Regions from separate parts of the Homo sapiens genome. Here regions 2 and 3 are each linked to region 1. The links are contacts of gene promoters, found by promoter capture Hi-C in blood cells and fetal thymus (Javierre and others, 2016). All regions are on one chromosome and are shown on one strand. Each heading gives the region's core, a stretch centred on a gene start or on the middle of the fragment in contact. The rest is flanking DNA. Distances are from core to core; before and after follow the strand shown.

Evidence for each region. Contacts are between HindIII fragments. The CHiCAGO score rates a contact against its expected background, and 5 or more counts as called.
Region 2: a contact is called between the fragment with the promoter of ERGIC1 here and the fragment with the promoter of CPEB4 in region 1, in 1 of 17 cell types (neutrophils). The highest score is 5.8, in neutrophils.
Region 3: the fragment with the promoter of DUSP1 here is called in contact with the fragment with the promoter of CPEB4 in region 1 in 1 of 17 cell types (activated CD4 T cells); the score reaches 5.6 in activated CD4 T cells.

The regions. Positions count from the first base shown.
Region 1 is chr5:173,887,058-173,889,757 of GRCh38, reverse strand. It overlaps CPEB4 (cytoplasmic polyadenylation element binding protein 4), which reads right to left and starts at 1,409. Exons shown (of 10, transcript NM_030627.4): 1 at 1-1,409. The coding sequence starts at 24. RefSeq lists an enhancer at 1,663-1,902. The HindIII fragment of the contact is 9,803 bases long and covers 1-2,700 here.
Region 2 is chr5:172,832,910-172,835,609 of GRCh38, reverse strand. It overlaps ERGIC1 (endoplasmic reticulum-golgi intermediate compartment 1), which reads right to left and starts at 1,359. Exons shown (of 10, transcript NM_001031711.3): 1 at 1,177-1,359. The coding sequence starts at 1,196. RefSeq lists enhancers at 1-126, 1-613 and silencers at 597-676, 687-736, 1,107-1,506. The HindIII fragment of the contact is 12,096 bases long and covers 1-2,700 here.
Region 3 is chr5:172,769,745-172,772,444 of GRCh38, reverse strand. It overlaps DUSP1 (dual specificity phosphatase 1), which reads left to right and starts at 1,250. Exons shown (of 4, transcript NM_004417.4): 1 at 1,250-1,859; 2 at 2,139-2,284; 3 at 2,651-2,700. The coding sequence starts at 1,493. It overlaps LOC105377730 (a long non-coding RNA gene), which reads right to left and starts at 234. Exons shown (of 3, transcript NR_188285.1): 1 at 1-234. RefSeq lists enhancers at 1-202, 1-239, 1-775, 240-1,001, 1,423-1,692 and 1 more and silencers at 803-1,252, 1,793-1,902. The HindIII fragment of the contact is 7,766 bases long and covers 1-2,620 here.

The sequences.
Region 1 (2,700 bases), core at 160-2,659:
CACTCCAAACCCGTAATCCCCCATTTATTATCTTTAGGAGCAGAATCTCACAATAAAAAATGACAACCTGATGTCTCACGCCTTTTTTTTCCTCTACCCCAAATTTAAGTTGTTTGCTTGCTTGCTTGAAATGTCTTATTTATAGCTAGCTCAAAGATCGCAGCTTATCACCTTAAATTGTTCTGATTTGGAATTCTGGTCTCTGAAAGAAAAAACAACTCTTAAAAAAATCTCTTAAAACATTGACTTGGATCCAATTGGGCTTATTTTTAGGAGGGAATAAAAATGAAGAGGGTAAAAATCAAGTCTTTGGTTAGTAAAATAGGCGCTTTCTTTTTCCAAAGGAAAATGTACATGAATGACAAAAACAGAGCTTCTCAAGCATCTATGGATGTAGAAGAATAAGCCTTGCGCGGAGTAAAAATATAGATATATATAATTTAACAATCACATATGGTTTTCCTCAGCAGTTTAGATTCACTCACATAAAAATTAGAATAGGACTAAGAGGGGAATACGTTCTTTTCTTGGCAGCTTGGTTAAAAAAAAATCAGGAATAATTTAAGAACATTATATATTATATATTTATATATATAGATTATATTAGGTTATCTGGGGTGGGAAGTGAATTCCTGGTTTCGGGAGAGGAAATCAGCATTGACTAATGGAAAGATGATTGCAGGGAGGTTTCTGCTGTTCCTGGTCCTGTTTTCTGCTCTTTCGCAGGGTGCAGTTTTGGCCTCTGGGGCTGTTCCTGAGGCTCCGGGTGCAGATCTTGCTGCGGTCGCTGTTCCTGGGCTCCCCGCGGCTTCCTCTCCCCCATGAAAGGGGTTGGAAACACCCGTTTCTCCCTCTTGCGGGGGTCGCGATCAGGAGGGATTAGCGAGACTCGACGAGGGTGAGCGGGCGGCCTGGGGGTGCGGGGACCGAGGGGGCGACCTGGAAGGTCCTGCGGTTTCTGCCTCTTCCCCTCTCTGCGGCTCCGGGGTTTTTTTCCCTCATGGGACCCAGGGGCGGTTTGTTCAGTTCCCTCAGTTCGATTCTCCGCAGAGAGGGAAAAAAGAGGAAAAAAAGGAAAAACCCACTACCGTAGTTATTTTAAAGGAGAAGGGCCTCCCCCCTCGGCTTTCTCTCTCTTTTCCCCCAGAATTTTTTTTTAAACTATAATTTAGAAGGCTTTTGTTTCTCCTCACGGTTGCTGGGCCGTCGCCGCCGTCGCCGCTTTACCCTGGTCCCGCAGTCCCCGCTGTCGTTGTTGAGGACTCCTCCTGGTTCTTCTTTTTCTTTCCTTCTTCCTCCTCTTCCTCCTCTGCTGTCGCCGCTGCTGCCGCCGCCGCCGCCGCCACCGCCTCCCGGTGCCCGGGTCCCGCAGCCGCGGCTGAGTCCTTCTCCTCAGGACCGAGCCGAGTGAAATGACAACCAGCTGGAAAGACCCAGAGACACTTCCGGTTCGAAGAGGGAGGGGTGGGGGTAGCACTCATTCCCCACCTACCTGCCGGAAGACCAATCATCTGTTAGAACTCAGGCGAGGCCACGCCCCCTCGCTTCAGAGCTACTCCCAGGAAGGTCGAAAAGTTACCTCCAGAGACGCCTCTTCCGTCTGCGCCTCGCCTAGTGAGGCCCGGCGCCTGGAACCCGCTTCCCCCACCCAGAGTGAGCGCAGCAGGTCGCCATCTTTTGTGTGGGCAAGGGACTCCTTTGATATTTCTCTTCCCTAACTGGGCTTTGCAGGAGGAGCAATAGGGACGTGTCAAGGAGAACGGATTCCTCGCTCACGAAGGCATACGGTCAAGGTGTTGGAGATCGAAGTGGCGGCCCGTGAAACCGCGGATGAATGAGAAGGGTGCCCACAGTAAAGGTGGTGCTCCAAGCATCACGTGCTCTGGCCCGAGCTCCGCCCCAGAGGGATCTGGAAGGGGAGGCGGGTCTTGCCAGCAGCTGTGCGGTGCCTAGAACTGCGTTTGCCCTTGCCCAGAATGTAGACCTCACGAGGGACTCTCCCTTAACCTTCCATTCGCTCACCCGCACCTCCCACTCTCCCATTCTGCTAGGCTCGCATCTGGTGCAGTCTCCCAGGTGCAGAGATGCAGCTGAGGCGTCTGTGGCTATGCCCCCGTATCATCCCGATCTAGTACACCTTACACGCAATACCAGAGGGAAAATTCCAAAACTAAAATTTTATCTTGACCCTCACATGCTCCGATTTCTTCTATGGTTGCCCATTATTTCGAAGATAAAGGCCAAACTTGTTAGTCTGGTATTCAAGCCTTTCTACCTAATGGGTGGTATATCTTAGTGCCTCTTCCCCCTCCAAACACACTCTCAATGCCTTTTTACATGTCCTTTCCACTCTTCTCCTTTGGTAAATTCCTATTTATTTCTAGGAATCAGTTCAAAAGCCACCAACAGCATCTTCTGAATTCTCTCTTATAAGCGTCCACGGCCCTGTGTACCTCTCGTGCTTGTTTCTCACACTATATTGTGATGGTTTATGTCTTCCAGACCTGTGCTGGACCGTGGGCTCTTTCAGGAGCAGACATTGTAGATAGGAGACATCAGTGAATGAATCCTGAAAACGTGAATGAACAAACCAGCAACAATGAAGTCTTCCCTGAGTGACAGCCCCCCAACCCACTGCCACCCCTTCCACCCGTCACCCACCCCCCACCCCTCACTCCTGTTTCCAAGTCTGAATTAATT
Region 2 (2,700 bases), core at 110-2,609, 1.1 Mb after region 1:
GGGGAAGAAATACCTCCTGTGGCACAGGCATCTGAATCACTATTTTGTGGATGTGGAAAACCCCTCCTGGAGAACACCCCCCATCCACTAATGCCCTATTTCTGAGCTCTAAATCATGCCAGACTCTGCTAAGGGTGTTTCACGCACTCAGTCGTCACAAGCGGAGACCTTATTTTTAGCCCCAATTTGCAGGTGGTGAAACTGAGGGCGCTCGGAGACTTGCTGAGGTCAGCCAGCCGAGCGGCGACAGGGAGTTCTGAACCCAGAGCCTTTGCCCCTAACTTCTAGAATATACCGAGCTGTTCAGTAGAAAGGGCAGAGCCAGGATTCTAATCCAGCTCCTCCCTGCATTAAAGCCCTGCTCTTTTCCCAGCCAGACACCAAGTGTGGCTGCCTCAGGCCAGGACATCCCCTGGGGCTCCACACCTCAAGGGAACCTCTGGTGGAGATCTCTTCCCCCGCAGGCTTCCAGAATGCCCCATGCAACCTAGACCATGAGGCAGCTGGACCCCACAAAGGACCCATTGTGGTGACTGCAGAAAGCCAAGGCCAGACCCCGGTGGCCCTTCTGCAGAGTCCTGCCCAAGGCGCCTCCTCCCCTTCCCATGGTGCCCCCATACCCAGCGGACAGGGCTGGGGCTGAGGGAGGGAGGGGCGGGGGCAGGCCTCCCGATCTGCCCGGCCTGGGGGAGCCTCAGGCTATAGAAACTTAAAACCCTCCAGCTGCCGGCAGGCTGCATGGGGCCCCAGGCCCCTCCGGACTCATTCCAGGTGCCCTGCCCCACCTGTCAGCTGAGGTGGGGTCCACCAAGGAGGCTCAGTAGAGGGAGGAGAGGGATGCTGGGGTGTTATGGGCTGTTCCCATCTGGGAGGAGGGAGGAAATGTTTCCTAGTGTGGGGGAGGGGAATGCAAGGTATCCGGGCAGGCTGGGGAGGGGGCTCGGCGGAGGGAAGGTGGGTGGATTTGTCTCCCGCTGCACGAGGGGGCCTCCGCGGCTCTGGCTGGCTTCGTGTGCGGCAGGGGGGGGGCTCGCCTGGGGTCCCTAGGGGCCTGCGGAGGCATGCACAGGGCGGGGAGCCGCTTTTGCATGCAGGGCGGGAGGGGTCCGCGGCGTGCCGGGGCGCTCCCTCTGCCCGCTGAGGGAACTCCCGACTGGCCGGGGTCGCCACACTCACCTCCTGAAGTCAAAGGGCATCGTGCCGCCGCCGGGGGTGGGAGCGCTGCAGGCCAGGCGGGCCGCGGCGCCGCGTGGGTCCGAGCCCGCTGCCAACGCCTCCTCCGGCCGCCCCGCCCCCGCCGGCCGCCCCCCTGACACTCGCCACTCGCCACTCGCCACTCGCCTCCCGCTGCCGGGAAGTGACGCTCCGCGCAGCCCATTGGGCGCCGCCCGCCCGGCCGCCCCTTCCGCCACCCGGTTAAAGGGGCCCGCGGGCAGGCAGGGAAGGGGCGGAGAGTCGAGGCTGTCGGAAGGGAAGGGAGTCCCCCAAAGACTCCAGTACTCATTCCTTCAAGCCTCCCACTTAGATTTCCTTCTCCATCTCTTTGGATGCCCTCGGACAAATTCTCTGCTTCTCCGAGCCCAGTTTTTTGCATTTGTAAACAGTTTCACTGAACTGTGATTGAGTTGGGGGCGGGGGGCGGGGTGATACAGACTTTGGCCGTGCACAGCGTCTAGCTCTGAGTGAGGGCCTAATACTGTGGGGGAAGGGAAGAGGTCGGCCATCCTAGGCTGTTAAGGTGGACTCACCTCTGCCCCTGCCGTGTCTCTCTGGGAAAGCCACTGGGCTTCTCAGAGCGCCCCCCCCCCGCCCCGCCCCTTTTGCATATCTGCACAAAGAGGACGATGACACCTACTTGAGGGGGTTTTCCTGGGGATCAGCTGAGAAACAGGAGACTGGCTTAGCACAGTGCCAGGCACCTGAAACTATTGAGGCTGGCAGTGGCTGTCCCTGCTTCCATCTGCCCCTGTCGTTCACTCCAGTGGGCATTCACAGAGCATCTGCTCTGAACCAGGTCCATCGAGAACATGCAGGGTTGTGGCAGAGGCAGATGGGACCTGCACTGTGACTTGGCCAACGTGGACTGTGCCGATTGTCTCCTTCTTAGAGCCTCAGTTTCCTCCTCAGGAATACAGAGCAGCTGCCTCCGTGACTGCTGGATTAGAGGAGATGGTAGTTGAGGTCACACAAGACCTGAGTAGGGGAAACTCACTCTGAACTTCCCCGAGGTTCTGTCACTGGCCCTTTCTCCAAGGTTGTGGTGGGACAGGGCTTCAAAAAACCCAGGGGAGAATGGTGAGGGCTCGGGTTCCAAAAGCAGAGTCAATGGACAGTTTCCCCCTGTGTAAATAGAGGGGAACAGCAGTGCTGGTTCCTCCGGGAGGATTCAGAAGGGACAACACTAGCACGGGGTCTGGGGTAGGGTGACGTGGTGAACCAAAGCCTTCCCCTAGAGCATATGCCGGGACCTGACCTCTGCGTTCCCTTTTCATTCATTCACTCATTCATTCATTCATTCATTCAGTGTCAGTGGTCTGACACTGTTGGGGGAGAAAAGGAAATCTCAGCCTGAACTGGAAACCTAGGGACAGCAGGGAGAGTTAAGGGATCTTGAGCAGCCACTGCTTCCAAACAGCCATTCGTTGGCCCTGTGTGGGAGGAAACATGCAATGATGGATCTTTGACCTCGAATCCTCCCTC
Region 3 (2,700 bases), core at 1-2,500, 1.1 Mb after region 1:
CCGTCACTGGGACTCAGGGCACGGAGATCGCTGGGCGGGGCGGGGGTCTTCCCAAGTGTTGCGATCCAGGTCCTGGCAATCCGCCCACAATGGCCCGGGATTGGATTTTGCTTTCGGCCTATAACGGCCGCGACGACAGGGAGCGAGGGTTGTGGCCGGCTTCTGTTCCGGGTTGGAGGCCCCCAGCCCAGCGCTTAGTGGGCGCTCACTGTGTATACTGCCTATTTGTATAATAAAGAAAGGGATGGAGAAGCTCAGTCTGGAGCCAAGGTGACAGAAACGTGTCGGGCGGCCCCTGGGGGGCGCCGTCGAGTCGCGCTGCGGGTCGCCCCTCACCCCTCCAAACGCCAAACCCTGGAATCCACTGCGGGGCCTTGCGACCCCTCACCGGGATTTCAGCCCCCTGACCTGCCTCCCTTGGCTCCAAGTCTTCCGGGGGCCACAAGACTAGGAATAGCATTATTTCCCGGTGGGAGTTTGCTTGCTCACACTTTCATGGCAAATGTAGATATTTTAAAGCCACCTTAAAGAAAAGTCTGGGAAACAGGAAAGCATTGCCCTGAACCTCTCCGCCCCAACTCGCTCGAGTCGGTCTTGGTAGGGACGACTTTTCTATCGGCAGAGTTGTTCATTTTTCTCTAAACTTCATCTTAGGCGCCTATTTGCTGCCCCCACCCCAGTAGTGTGGTTCTGGGCAAGTCAGTCGCTTCGCCTGGGGAACCTCAGTTTCCCCGCCTGTTAGTGATGAGGAAATGAGGAAAAGGGGCACAAGAGTATGCAAAAGCACAGGAAGCCCCTTTCGGTTCAGGTCGGCGGCCGAGGGGCACGGGGAAGGGGACTCGGGGAGGGAGAGAGGGAGGAGCGGCGAGGCCAAGGCAGGTGGCACGTCGCCCGTTCTCCCGGCCGCTCGCATCCCGGAGGTCAGCCTCAGCTGGCAGCGAGCCCTCCTCCTCCCCGCTGGGCCTGGAGCGCGGCGCGGGTCCGGTCCCTGGGGACGCGCCAAGAGCAGGCCGGACAGCAGGGCGGGGGCCGGGCCGCGAGCCAGCGCGCGGCGAGCGGACCCAGCTCCGAGGCTGATGACGTCTCCCCCTCTGGCTCGGCGGCGCCTGGCCTGGCAGGGCGGGTGACGTCACCGCCCCGTCACGTGATCACCATTCAAACAAACACCCCCCCTCCCCCTGCGCGCGGGTCTGGCCCGCCCCGTCCCCCAGAGGCCGCATATAAACGCGCTCCCCGGGCCAGGCTCGCTGCGAAGGACATTTGGGCTGTGTGTGCGACGCGGGTCGGAGGGGCAGTCGGGGGAACCGCGAAGAAGCCGAGGAGCCCGGAGCCCCGCGTGACGCTCCTCTCTCAGTCCAAAAGCGGCTTTTGGTTCGGCGCAGAGAGACCCGGGGGTCTAGCTTTTCCTCGAAAAGCGCCGCCCTGCCCTTGGCCCCGAGAACAGACAAAGAGCACCGCAGGGCCGATCACGCTGGGGGCGCTGAGGCCGGCCATGGTCATGGAAGTGGGCACCCTGGACGCTGGAGGCCTGCGGGCGCTGCTGGGGGAGCGAGCGGCGCAATGCCTGCTGCTGGACTGCCGCTCCTTCTTCGCTTTCAACGCCGGCCACATCGCCGGCTCTGTCAACGTGCGCTTCAGCACCATCGTGCGGCGCCGGGCCAAGGGCGCCATGGGCCTGGAGCACATCGTGCCCAACGCCGAGCTCCGCGGCCGCCTGCTGGCCGGCGCCTACCACGCCGTGGTGTTGCTGGACGAGCGCAGCGCCGCCCTGGACGGCGCCAAGCGCGACGGCACCCTGGCCCTGGCGGCCGGCGCGCTCTGCCGCGAGGCGCGCGCCGCGCAAGTCTTCTTCCTCAAAGGTACGCCCTCGGGGAAGCTCGGGGCGGGCCGCACACCCCTGAGGTTTTGCCCGGTACCCCTGGCTCTCGGCTCCCGGGGGATCGCCCCACCTGCAGCGCGTGGGCGCTGGAGTACATTTATCTCTGGAACTTGTCATTGGCTTTGTTTGGCTCTGGAAACAAAGACTTGCCTGGGCCTTTCCGATGTAAACTTCCAGCCCTTGGTGGGTGGGGGAGTTGTATGAAGGTGCCGTGTCCCGGTGTCACTAATGGGGAAAAAAAATGTCTTTGTATTCCCAGGAGGATACGAAGCGTTTTCGGCTTCCTGCCCGGAGCTGTGCAGCAAACAGTCGACCCCCATGGGGCTCAGCCTTCCCCTGAGTACTAGCGTCCCTGACAGCGCGGAATCTGGGTGCAGTTCCTGCAGTACCCCACTCTACGATCAGGTTAGTAGGTGTCCCTGCCACAGGGAAGAAGTAAGAACTGGCAAAGGCATGGAAGAGTAGTGCCAGGGAGAATATAGAAAGTGACCTGCAGCATTATTTATAACGGAGGGGACACAGGGATATGATTTATTCCACAGTTAAGTGGTCTGACGGAGCCGAGTCTCCAATTGTAGGCTCTACGGAAATGAACTTGCTGGTCCTGCCCAGGCAAATGGGCTTAGTTCCCTATTTATTTATCCTCCAGCAACAGAACTGAGTTCACTCGGTATCTGAAATTGACTTTTCCAGCAGAAAGTTTTTGTGGGTATGGGCACTGGCCTTGGCTTTGAGCAAGCTTGATGAATGTTGGATATTTCTGGATTTCAGGGTGGCCCGGTGGAAATCCTGCCCTTTCTGTACCTGGGCAGTGCGTATCA